Linked DNA regions of Homo sapiens: region 1 is linked to region 2. The links are contacts of gene promoters, found by promoter capture Hi-C in blood cells and fetal thymus (Javierre and others, 2016). All regions are on one chromosome and are shown on one strand. The core of a region is centred on a gene start or on the middle of the fragment in contact, and the rest is flanking DNA. Distances in the headings are between cores, read along the strand shown. Region 1 overlaps LOC105378797 (a long non-coding RNA gene). Region 2 holds the start of ZRANB2 (zinc finger RANBP2-type containing 2).

Region 1 (6,198 bases), core at 2,081-4,580, 1.4 Mb before region 2:
TATCTTCTAAGCCAAGGAATATACTGGTATCTTGAAATTATTAGGCGCTGATCCCATCTAAGTAATAAATGATTTATCTCATCCTCTACCCAGTCCTGCCCAATATCCTTTGAAGGTTAAGACAAAAGAAGGTCTGGATTTACTGTGGTATGTTCAGCAAAAAGTTATCCTTCTATTCCTTCTACTAGCTTTTGTAACACAACTGTATTGCTCATAGAAAAAATAATCTAGTATGCATAGATACATGTTTGTGCAAGATTTTAGTATTATAAACAAAATTGTGATCCACTATTTTTCAGTGGTCTCAAAATCAAATATTAGTTTGCTCTGAGTACTGCCTAAATCCATCTACTTTGCTGTTGTGTACTTGTGCTATGTCCTTTTATTGTTCCTCTAGATTTGAACAGTCACTATCTGTTTGCCCTGTCATAGAAAAATCAACACATGCCATGTCTATTATACATCAATTATTTACAGAAGCCCCCTTCTACTTATCTTAATCAAGACCTAAAGAGTATAAAATTTCATCGTGACATCCTTCTTTTACAATATATAGATGATCTTCATTTAAACCCCAAAAGACAAAGATCTAAGATCATTTCCATCTATTTGTCAAAAGCATTAATCCAGAAGAGGCATAAAGCCTCTAAGGAGAAATTGCCATTCTACCAGTGAAAGTTTCTTTATCACATGATATATTCTAAGAAAGGAAATCTCTAATCTCTGACAGAATACACATATCTGGAATTTTTCTAGATCAACTCCAAAAGGCAAATCTAGAAATTTTTATGACTAGCTGGATATTACAGGTACTGTGTGCAATTTTTTTTTCTGAGTTTGCATATCATTTGTATAATTAATTCTTGAATCTTCTCTAGGGAAAAAAAAACATTAAAGTGTCTTTGGTAAGTTAAATTATGCCGATGGTCAACCACTACCAACTTTAGGATTGGCTAATTATTACGTATCCTTTTCCTTTTCACCATTAATACACTAGTCAGACACTGGATGGACACTGACAAAGCATATTTTCCTTAACCAAAAACTAGAGTAGCAGCTATATTAGATTTAGTTCTCGGGTCCCTATATAATTTGTTGGCTTTCCTTGCTGTGCAGACTGCCATTAGCAGAAAATAAGAAATTCTCAGTTAATTGGTTTACCTCCTATGAAATTTTGTTGCCTTCCCTTTTTATGTATCACTATGCAGTGTTATTATTCTTAACACAGCAATTCTCCTTCCTCTATCTAAGGAGGCATTTTTACTATACTTTAGGTAACTATCAAAGTCTTTTCTAAGCTTTTGAAAAATTCTTATAAACACCTTGGTGTAATTTTATTTGTTGATGCTACATACTTGAAAACAGATTCGGAATACATCAAACATGCTATGGTGGCTCATATCTATTAATTCAGCCCAAATGACTGAGTTGACCATTGTCACATGGGTTCACCACCCATTGTTAAAACAATTATAAGCACACCATTACCCTACTCTCTCACTACACCCAGGAGAAATCCTAAGCTTTAAAAGTTAGATCATTTTAAATTAGAAAACTAAAGTTTGGCTCAACATCCCCACACTCATTTTACCCACTCATTAATATTTTTATTCAGTTGAGAAATATTTCCTGAGCATCTACTTTATCATTGTTGAAAGCTTCAGAATATCTATGAAGGGGGACTTAGGTCTAAAGGACTATTTTTAAGTCCTTTGCTTGGCAAGAAGACTAGTCTTACATAGGCGCTCTGTTTATTTGGGGTGGCTCAAAGTGCATAAGAGCAACCATGGAGAAGATTATGGACGTATTAAATTTTACCTCCCTTTCACTCATCTTTTCCAACACTACATGCAGTACTGAACTAGGTTTAAAAAGGTGAATGCAACAGAAATATTCCAGGCCCATGTGGAGTTTTCTGTAGTGTTTTCAAGGCCCCTGGTTAGTTGCCACACCTGGAGACTTCCAAGATTTCCCTAATTCCCTTACCTGATATTGTCACCAAAGGGCTAGTCAATATGTAATCTTCAACCAATCTCTTAGCCTTACTTAATACACCATGCCCTATCACCAGGGTCTGTGTATAGCCACATTTATTTTTCCTTAAACTGCTCAGGATAAATTCTAGGAAAAATGCCAAGATTTGATGATCTCTTGCTGCTATCCCTGGAAATATGTTCCCTATAACACCCTGGCTGCTTTCCACCAAGCCTTTCCTAGGCTGAGAACCTACATTTCATGAAGATATGTTTATAAATGAAAATCTTCTACTACTCTGTAGACTTGTTACTGATTTTTAAACTTAATTTTAGCTAACAAGAAATATTACTCACTGTATGTTAGAAGCCAACTGCAGGAAAGTAATTAGAAAGTCGTTTTGACTTTAAAAAGTAGTACATTATTTTACAAATTCTAAATAAAATGGAATGAAGGAGCTTTTTATGACTCAAACAGTAGTTTAGAAAACTCTGCATGTGCTTAAATAATAGTTTACAAGTGTTTGATTTAAATCAGTGACAGAATCCAAACGAAGCCTTCATTTGAAACTGAGAGGTGAGATCTGAGGCCTAAAATATTTATTTATAAAATACATCTTAAAAATCATCTGATGAAAGGAGCTGAAGAACATCGTGAACTAAGCCTACAGTTGGATATATGACATCACAGAAACATAGTAGGAACTTATAAAAAGTAACTTAGTCATGTGGTAGGTGTAGTTTTAAAGGATCCCTATTAATTCTACTAGATAATAATGGGAAACATCTATTTATTTCAGCTACAAATCTATATAATCAGGAAACAGTTGTGGCTACATTTTGTTTTAGCCTGGCAGAGCACCTCTACCAAGTATCCCACACCATAGGAATATTTTTCCTGTCATTTACTGAGGGATTAAATTGCTAATCAGCTCAAATATGATCTCCATTCACCACCCAAAATGTTACTAAAATCATTATTGTAAGCACACATGTAGGAATTTAATGTTTTCCTTCGAAGGTTAAAACAAAAGAAGGTCTGGATGTTTCCCATTAAAAAAATGGAGGGACTTCAGTTATCTCAGAATATAAGACAGTAGAGACTATCAGTTTATTCTTTAGTCTTCTGGGACAGTCAGGCAAAATGTAAAGGGAATGAGGGATAGGAAAATTCTGTTTAATTGTGGTTTGGGAGTTCAATATGTAAAGTTATATGCCAAAGTGAGTAAAAGCATTTTAAACCAGTATAGTGTTTGATAGGAGTAAAATGCCTTATTTTTCCTACTTTTTCTGAGAGATCACTGAGCTGGATTTTCATAGTTTTTTTTCTAGTTCAGAATAAAATTCATATGTAAATCATTCTGATTAAAAAAAAACAAAAACAAAGAGATTAGAAAAGACCCATTTTTGCACCAGGGCATAGGATAACTCTGAGTATTTATACTTGATTCTATTTCTTCTCTTTTATTTCAAAACTAGGGAGTAGCTGCATTGGTATTTAGTCATCCAATTATATTGGACAAATAGTTTCGAGGAAATAGTTTAAAAAGTTCGTCATGTATAAATACATTTTCACCTACAGATATATTTACACAAATGCATATTTACAATTAATGATCCTCACTCTGCACATGACTAAATTCCACAGTTGCCTACAGTGTCTGCTTTCTCATTTACATACATATCTATATTCAATAATAAATCCATAAGAACCAATTTATAAACAATTTTTCTAGTAGATGCTACATATTTTTTTTAATGTATGCTGGACTATTATTGCCTTTCATTTGAGAAGGAAGGTTCCTTTTACCCTAGGAAAATGGGCTTCTTTAGGCTGAACATTATCATTATTTTCTATTCATTTAGATTTAACTGAAAGGGACTTTACACAAACACATGCCTGTTTGCTCCTAAAGATCACTGTCATATTATAATTCTAAAGAAATCTTCCCTCCCTGATGGATTAGTCCAGATGTGTCCCAAACCTGTCACAAACCAGAAAAGGTTAAAGATCACATAATTTCTTTGTTGGACCCTCTGTCAAGTCATGTTTACTGTCACCAAAAGGTTAGGCTAGAGAAGAAAAAATCAGGTTGATGAATGGTGCAGAATGCATGTCAATGAAATGAAAGAGATGGTGTGCACCTGTTTTCACCAGTGATAAGCCACCCAGATTTTGCCCTGTCACTTTTAGTGTTCAAAAGCACATTGCATTTAGATTTGGATCCTGAACACACTTAAGGCACTGGGACCACAGAAACAACTCATTAACATGTATCCTACCAGTTATTTGCAGATGTGGATTTTTTTTTTTGCTGAGGTCTATCTCACTTCACTAGATATTACCATCTCCAAACCTTTTTAAATGAACAGCCATAATTATGTTAGGCTCTGTTGTAAGAAAATGGTAGTATGAGGAAAAAGTAAAAAACAGAAACAATGAAATTTATTTTATTATTATTTACATATATAATAAATGTGCTCTAATATACAGATTTTCAAATACAGACCAAAATAGCTTTTCATCTCCTTATAACTTGGTTAAGAATTTTTGCAAAACAATGGAAAAAATACCCACGATATGCAAACACTTCTTTTGCACAGTCATAACTGTACAGCGAAATGATGAATTTTAAACTACAGGCCTCCAACTAAGCTCAGCCTATTCTTGCATGATAGAAGAGTAACAAGTTTATGATGCTGGTAATCTTCACAGTCTTAAAAAAATCTTACACTGTCTCAAAATAGTTGCAGGTAAATTGGGCCAGAGATAAAGTCTACTTTTTTCAAAATTTTAGAAGTGATTTGAATTCTGTCTGAATGACTAACCAGTACAACAATTAATAGTATAGTGTAGCAAAGTGCACTTCTTTCTTTCTGCCTTCTAAAGACATGTGGTTTCCTTTTATGTGTCTGTTCTGAAGGGCATTTTGTTTTTTCTCTTTACGCTCTTCCTGGAATTTCAAAGACTCTCCTTATGTCAAATATCATTGTATAGATAACACTCGGTTTCATTTACTTAAGCTTTGACCTTTCTCTTGAATTCACTAGACTGTATACTTTTCAAAAAGGTGTTGTATTTACCAAAGTACAGTACCTTTCACAGTTCCAGAGATAAGATGACCTCTGAGTGGGTGACAAATTTTGAGCCAGTGTTATGTTAAGAATTAAATGCAAATTGAAAAAGAAGGCATAGATATGATGAAAATTTCATCCAGGAACTGGGGATGGTTAGAACAGAGCAGGAATTTGGGCTGTCTGGGTATAGTGAGCAGGATTTCTAGTTATATATCAGCAGTCAGGAGAAGGATAGAGGAGGAACAGGGCCTTTCAAAGTTACTGCCGACAGGAGTGGAATGGGATTATCTCACGTCACCCAATCTTAGGACACGGAAAGCATAGATAATTTGTTGGATTGTGAGAAAACCGGATTTAATACTGAATGTGCACTTTCTTTCTTGTAGGCGAGGAGTGGTACTACGAAAATATTTAAGTGACTTACAATGTTTAAAAATACTACCAAGTATTATAGTGAAGTTTTAATACAGTATATTTGACTTGAATGCCAATTTAATTTCTTGCCACATGTAAGTTGTCCTCAAATTATAGTTGCCAGACCAGTAGCAGCAACATCACTTAGGAAATTGTGAGACATACAAATTGTCAGGCCTCACCACAGACCTGATCAGAAAGTCTAGGAGTACAACCTAGGAATCTATTTATTTAACAAGCTAATCTGGTGAATCTGATGCATGCTAAGGTCTAAACTGACTGCTATATACCATGCTGCAGCAAATATTCATTGACAGCCTCAAGATACTGAGGGTACAGAGATAAATAAAACAGGGGCTCTGCCCTCATACTGCAACATATGGGGATTCAAAGGAAGAAAATGCAAAATAATACTTTTAACAATTTCTTCCATTACAGAGTGGTTATGAAAGAGACAGAAGACAGGGAAATTCTGGGCAGAAGAGGGTGGGTCTGCAGCAAGGGCCCCACCCTCAGGCCTGGAACCTCGGCCCAAAGTGAGAACATACATTCCTATTTTCCCATTCAAATGTTGCCTTTTCCAAAACCACCCATGGCCTACCCTGAACCCCAAACCTGTGCCCATAAAAACCCAGGCTCTGCTGCCAGAGGGAGGAGAAGAAGAGGAGCACATGGACATTAAAGACTACAATTCGATGTCGCAGAGAAGCAGCTTGACTTCACAGGGATGGCT
Region 2 (7,012 bases), core at 2,568-5,067:
ACAGTAGGTTAAGTGTGCTCAGGAGAGAAGACAAATTATCAGAGGGCTGTTTGGTGAGCATATAATAAGAATAAAGAGAATGGGTAGAATTTTTCTTTCAAATTAGGATAGCTGAAATGAATTTCTTTTGTAGGAATATTTCTCTTTGAAAAATCAGCTAAAGTCCTTGAACTCAAATAACCTCTTCTGGTCATTATCAGATGTATTCACGCATTTTGTTCATTATCCTAGACTTACTATAGAGGATTTTTCTCTTGACACATAATTCTCCCAGAAAAATTTTGCTAATTACAGTTAGTACAGTTGATTAACTGTTGTTGCATTAACTGCATGTCATCTACCAGCTTTGGCATCTATTATTCCTATTGACCCCATGAAGTCACTATCTCCTCTCTACTCCCAAGGGTGATCACTATCCAAGATTAGTTTGGCTGCTTTTGAACTTCATGTAAATGGAGTCATATAGCATATGCCATTTTGTGTCTTGCTTTTTTCAATTCAAGACTGTATTTGTGAGTGAAATACTGTTCAATAATCTGAGTGTAATTTGTTATTCTTGCTACTGTATTACACATTCCAACTGTGTAAACATATGACAATTTATTTATCTAGGCTACCACTGATAAGCAATTGGGAAGCTTCCAGTTTGGGCTATTTTGAATAGTACAGCTCTGAACATTACTATATACATCTTCAGTGAACATTATGTGCATTCCTGTTGGTAATATACCTAAAAATGGAATTTCAGGGTCATAGTGTACGAAAATGTTCAGATTTAATATATTCCGACATTTTCCAAAGTAGATGTATCAATTACTTTTTGCAATGTATGAGAATTACAGTTGCTCTACATGCTTTCCAACACTTAGTATTCTCTGATTTTTCATTTTAGTCAGTTTGATGAATGCATAATGGTATCATATGGTTTTAATTTGCATTCCCCTGACTTGCAGTACCAACCAAGACATAGAAAGCCCACAATAACCTATCTTTCCTAATGATTACAGTGAGAAACTCAAGACAAAATACCAAAAGCAACTGCCTGAAGACTCTGGAAAAACAAAAACAAAAACAGGTAAATTGGAGTGGAGAATGAAAACCTGGAGAAATGTTCTGTATGTTTGCTTTTCCTCTTTTCTCACAGCTTTTGACCTAAGGCCCAACACCTAGTGAAACTGTGGTGACAGGAAAAACCGACAGAAACCTGTATGTCTTGCCAGAATGGGGATAGGGGGCTTTTGTGAGCCAAAAGTTAGTCGGGGGAATACTTAGCTCCCCCTCTTCTGGTTTTTCTTTCTTTTTTTTAATTTCTCTCTCTCTCTCTCTCTCTCTCTCTCTCTCTGGGCATTGGCCCAAGAGTGAGGCCCTAGGCTTGGGTATCTACAATACTAACAGAAGCTCTGTTTTTATGGACAAAGGAAGTAGAAAAGGAGGCCTTTGTGGTCTGAAGAGTGTAGAGGGAATCCACATTTTTTCTCTCTCTTTTCTGTCACTGCTTTGTCTCAGAATCTGCCCTAGTCAGCTGCTATGCCAGGCTGCTAAAACTCCAAGAGGAACCTCATATTTCTGGTGAGAGGACCTTGCGAGACAAAAGGAGAAGAATGTAAGAGGAGAGAGCTAGAGAAGAGGATCCCCTAATTCTATGTATGAACCTATACAAGTTCTGTGTTCACACCTAAACTGAACACGTGCAGAACAAACACAAAATAGCATAGCAAAACTGAATTTCAATTTAAACTACTGCTAACATCCCCAAATAATCCCTGAGTATTGTAGGTATAGGACACAGCAAAGCCTTTGAAAACCCAGCTGACATGGAACCAGTACTCATAGAAGATGAGACCGAACTTTTGACCTGAACCAAATTGGATCGATTGCCTTCTAAAACAAAAAAAAATCAACATTCCCTAAAGGCTTTTAACAGGACTCAGTCTATGCAACATAATGTTCAAAATGTCCTAGATAAAATCCACAATTACACAGTATAAAAGAACTGGAAAAATGTGACCAACTTGCAAGGGAAAATATAATCAACACCTGCTAACTCCTAGATGACCAAAATGTTATAATACAGATTTTAAAGCAACAATCATAACTAGAGAGTAGTTGAACAATTTCTCTCCTAAACATAATCATACTTGCATAAAGACATTTCAGTCAATGATGAACCACATATACAAAGGTGGTCCCATAAGATTACAATACCATATTTTTACTGTACCTTTATATTTAGATACACAAATACCACTGCGTTACAACTGCCTACAGTATTTAGTACAATAAGATGTACTAAATGCAGGTTTGTAGTCTAGGAGCAATAGGCTATACCATATAGCCTAGGTGTGTAGTAGGCTATACCTGCTAGGCCTGTGTAAGCACATTCTATGATGTTCACACAACAGCACAATTGCCGAAAGTGGCATTTCTCAGAACATATCCCTATCATTAAGTGAGGCATGACTGTATATGCTGTATTCTAAAAAAAATTAATGCATTTATATACCAGAATCTATGCATAAGAATGCTCATACTGGTGTTGTTTGTAATACCAAGCCTGAGAAACAGAAGGAATAAACTGTCACAAAACCACAAAACGGAATAGTATCAGTATACATCAGTGCAAATAAAAGAATTACACCTATACACTTCTACATGCAACTACCTAGGATTAATTTAGAAGCATAATGAACAAAAAAAGAGTACAGAATCAACTATGCTTACACAGCTCATAAAATTAAACATACATGTATGTTAGGTTTTGAAGGGAAGGCAAGGATTAAAGAAAGAGAGGGTGGCTTAACAACAAATACAGGATTTATGTCCAGCATAAGACCTACAGAGGTGGGAGACCAGCTTAATGCCAGTGCCCGTTGCTTCTTACAGGCTGGGGTGATTTATAGGCCTGGGTGGGAGTGGTCTGGGGGGCCATGGCCTGCTTCCTGGGAACATGTTGATAAGGTGTTCCCAGGACGAGGCGGCTCTGGCCCTTGTTCCAGTGGAATGTGGTACTTTCTCCCAGCAGAGTATAAGAGGCAGCCTGTTTCTCACGCCCGAACCCCGTGGAATGTTTCACTTTGACTAAGGTCTGCAAAATGGCAGGGGGGCTTACAAAAATGGTGCAGTTTGGACTAACAACGTACATAAATTTTTAAAAAGCAAAAGAATAAATCCCAAATATGGGAAAGTGTTATCTGTGGAAGAAAGTAATGGGATGGTATCAGAAAAGACACTGGTAATTTAAACAGTGTTGACAATGTCTCAGTTTTAAAATTACCAGCTGGTTCCCATGTATAAGTTGCTTACTTATCTGTTACACCTATTTATGTATATATAAAAATAGGTTTCCAAACGACATCCCATGTGTATGAAATAACAGAATTTTTATGCCTTATTAAAATAATTTCTCTAAACACTTGAAGAGCCCGAGCCGCCTCTTACCCTAAACGAACCCCACGCCCCTGAATTGATCAGTCACTTCCGCCTCCACCTTTCCAGCTCCACCTAAGGAAGCGGAAGTACTTTACTCTTGGGTCCTCCCACCTGTAGGGGGCTCTCCGAGGCTTCTAGTGCCACGAAGGCCTCCTGCCTGGGTTGTCCTTATGGCGCCTGTGAGTTTAGTTCTAGAAAAGATATTTGTATTTTAACTTTTCCATCTAACAAACAGTAGCACAGGCATCTTAGTCTGGACAACAACGTACAAGCTGAATTCCTGGCTAGTTCCCTCATTATCAAACCCTGACACAGTAGTAGGCGCGAGTCAGGCAGTGTGGGGACAGCCCCGAGTTGCCGAAAGTCCCCGGCCCGTTTTCCTCCTGTGAAGACATAGCTGCGGGTGGCTGTGCTGGTGGCGTTCAAGATGTCGACCAAGAATTTCCGAGTCAGTGACGGGGACTGGATTTGCCCTGACAAAAAGTGAGTTCAAGAAGGGTCCTGAATTGGGACGGAGTTTGTTAGTGGAAGCTTTCCGAGGTCCGTCCGGCATTTTCCTTTTTTATGATTTTCTGTGCCTTAAGACGGGTTGAGGCGGCGAACCGCCAGTTCCCTGGCGGGAAGAAGGCTCCCAATCTCCTCACGAGAGAGGTCTTTCCGGGAGCCTTTGTTCTAGATATGTCTTCAGCGTTTCCTCGACATTACCTCCGCAAGGTAGCCTCTCTTTTTAGAGTGCGAGATGGCCTACCTTTTTGCCCCCACCCCCCTCCCCCGCCCCGGCCAGGTTTTAGCGATAGGAAACCTCTCCAGTCAGGCCAGCTTGGTGTTGGATCTCCCCCACGTGACTTTTCTCTGCAGAACTTTACTCTTGTTCACGGAAAATATTGCTTTCTCGCACTCGTCCTTTTGCCTCTTATAGTTCACCTTGTTTTGTATTTTTACTCAAACTTTTCCTCCATACTATTTTCCCCTTTTCCGGAAGCTCTACCCTCTTCGGTTTGGGAAATTCTGACATTTTCTTTGTGGATCATTTCTCCACAAGAATTGGGCTTTTCGCCTCCTTAGAGCCGAAAAGGAGGGAAGAGGCCTGTGTTTTTGCCTACTCAGCCCTTAAGATGCCTGCAGCAGAGAAGCACGTGTGTTAGTGGCTCTGCTTTTTGACATTGTTGCCAAAGCCAGTACTCGACTAGATAGTTAATCAGATTTTTTTTGAAGGGTGCACAAATAGGTGTATCTATTCGGAAATAACATGGAAAATAATTTAATGTACAACTCATGTTCACATAAAAGCCTTTTATTTGTTGTACCTAAGTTAGCCACAAATAGGTTTTGATTGTAAAAAGCAAAAACTTTGAAATAAACCTGGGTTTAGTTAAAATTCTATTACTTATTTAACTGCTAAAAAAGGAATAGAATTTTTTTTTTAATGAAAACATGAAATAACATGGATAGGGTGTGTAAACAGTGACGTGTAGCAAATTCTAATTGGTGGCTATTGATAGTAATTTGATATTAAGATGACCTGAAGGAGTAGTTCAAGCCTAACAAATGATACTGAATAGAACCAAAGTTATATGTTATGGATAGTATTGCTCTGAGTGGTAAGACATTATTGAAAACGTTCAAAAGATTTAGAACAACAACTTCTGACTTTGTTGTTACCTGTAAAATAATGTGCTTTTGTCAGTGTCTTTAATGACAGCACACCCAGAGGTAGGACTCTCAATGAGAGTTCATTTCAACTCATTTACAAATATATGAATAGAATGTTGTTTGTACAATATGTTTAAATGCAGGATAAATTTTCAGAGTATATTTTCCATGCTTAATGGAGTTAAAAGGAATATTTTTAGGGGAAAAACTTAACCTAAATATTATTTAGAGTGTTTCACTTTAGTGTCATCCCATACTTCACATCTGTATTGTATTCTAGTATAATGCCTTAAAAATCAGCTTTTTAAAGTTTAAGCATTCCATGTTATCCAGAGCATTTAACATACTTTTACCAATATACACGTACACTTCTAAGGTCATGTGAGTGAACCAGTAATTCTTTAGGTTTGAGTTTGTTGAGTATAAGCATAAAGTCTTACTGTACTACATGTGTTGAGATTATTGGTTTTGGTGGTTGTGTCATTTTTTTCAGCGAAGTCTCAGAGGTTTGAGAAATGCCCTGTAAAACTCAGTTTTCTTACAATTATTGAATCTTTTTGTATTTTTAGTCAGTACAACCTATCATATTTGGTTCCTTAGCATCCTACCTACTGCATGTAAAAAGATAATTTCATTAAGATCCATGAAGCCCTCCTTGATTTATAAGTTTTTTTCCTCATTGGTCCACCGCTAGGGTTTAAAACTCCCTGGTAGCTTGTAAGTAATTAGTGAAGTGGAGTTAACTCTCACTTTCAACTTTGTAAAGGGATTATAACTAATGATATGTGCTAATGTGAGGACTTGAGGCAGAGATCCTAAGTAACTTAATCAAGATCACATGACTGGTAAATGGAGGATTGGGATATCTTATTCTGAATTTGTGGCTCCAATCAAGTATTTTTCCCCCAGTAAATTGTGTGGAGTTTTTTGTTGGTAACATTGACATTAACATGACTAAGATGGATTAGAAGTTATGAATTCCAGATATGTAGTGAGGACAAGTTAAAATGTAAAATTTTACAAATTTAAATTTTTATAAATGCTTTTTAATCTGTTTTTAGATGTGGAAATGTAAACTTTGCTAGAAGAACCAGCTGTAATCGATGTGGTCGGGGTAAGTATTTAAAGAAGATTCTATTTATACTGTATATGTATCATTTATTTATTTCTCCAGGTTCATATTGCATGATTTTTCTGTTTTCAGAGAAAACAACTGAGGCCAAGATGATGAAAGCTGGGGGCACTGAAATAGGAAAGACACTTGCAGAAAAGAGCCGAGGCCTATTTAGTGCTAATGACTGGCAATGTAAAACGTATGTTTTTTAAATTATTGTCTGCTCTTTCTTCCAAAATAATAGATCTGGCCACTACTTGTTTATATTACAGCTCTTATTAGTGACATTGACAAGCCAGGGTAACCTTTTAAATCCAAGGTATTGTTATTCAGTCTCATCTTTAAGTATAGTATAAAGAAGTTTTAAATTATTCTTTGCATTTTTTAATGGTAATAGTTGTCACTATGATGGATTATGTATACCAGTAAACAAATGCTTATGGTAAGCTCAAAACCAATCGGGGGGTGGTGGTACTTAAAAGTACTAAGGCCTATTACTTCCTTTATTGAAAAATCCCAATTTTTAGACTGTATAGTTAGTGTGAAATACACCACAAAACTCATTTTGCCTGTTTACAAAATAATGTTAGATTCATAAGTTGTGTGCCGTAAGTAATTAAGTCTAATTATAGGTAGGTTTCTTAATGATTTTTATTTTCAGGCTTAGATTTAATTCTTCATTGATTTTTCCAACTTCCATCTTTTCTCTATGCAGATGAATCCTATGTGTATGAAAGAGGTCTAAATCAAAAAAGTATTAAATAAATTTCTCTTTTTGTTTGTTTGTATTTTTTGTTTTTGAGATGAGGTCCCACT

What was found. Contacts are between HindIII fragments. The CHiCAGO score rates a contact against its expected background, and 5 or more counts as called.
Region 1: a contact is called between a fragment that was not itself captured here and the fragment with the promoter of ZRANB2 in region 2, in 1 of 17 cell types (fetal thymus). The highest score is 8.2, in fetal thymus.

Annotation. Positions count from the first base shown.
Region 1 is chr1:72,481,976-72,488,173 of GRCh38, reverse strand. All of the region lies in intron 1 of LOC105378797 (a long non-coding RNA gene), which reads right to left. Among named protein-coding and RNA genes, the nearest start is that of NEGR1, 200 kb to the right of the region's middle. The HindIII fragment of the contact is 3,339 bases long and covers 1,661-4,999 here.
Region 2 is chr1:71,077,840-71,084,851 of GRCh38, reverse strand. ZRANB2 (zinc finger RANBP2-type containing 2) reads left to right here and starts at 3,817. Exons shown (of 10, transcript NM_203350.3): 1 at 3,817-3,912; 2 at 6,144-6,196; 3 at 6,287-6,395. The coding sequence starts at 3,857. It overlaps ZRANB2-DT (ZRANB2 divergent transcript), which reads right to left and starts at 3,528. Exons shown (of 4, transcript NR_046217.1): 1 at 3,439-3,528. RefSeq lists an enhancer at 3,578-3,867. The HindIII fragment of the contact is 3,322 bases long and covers 641-3,962 here.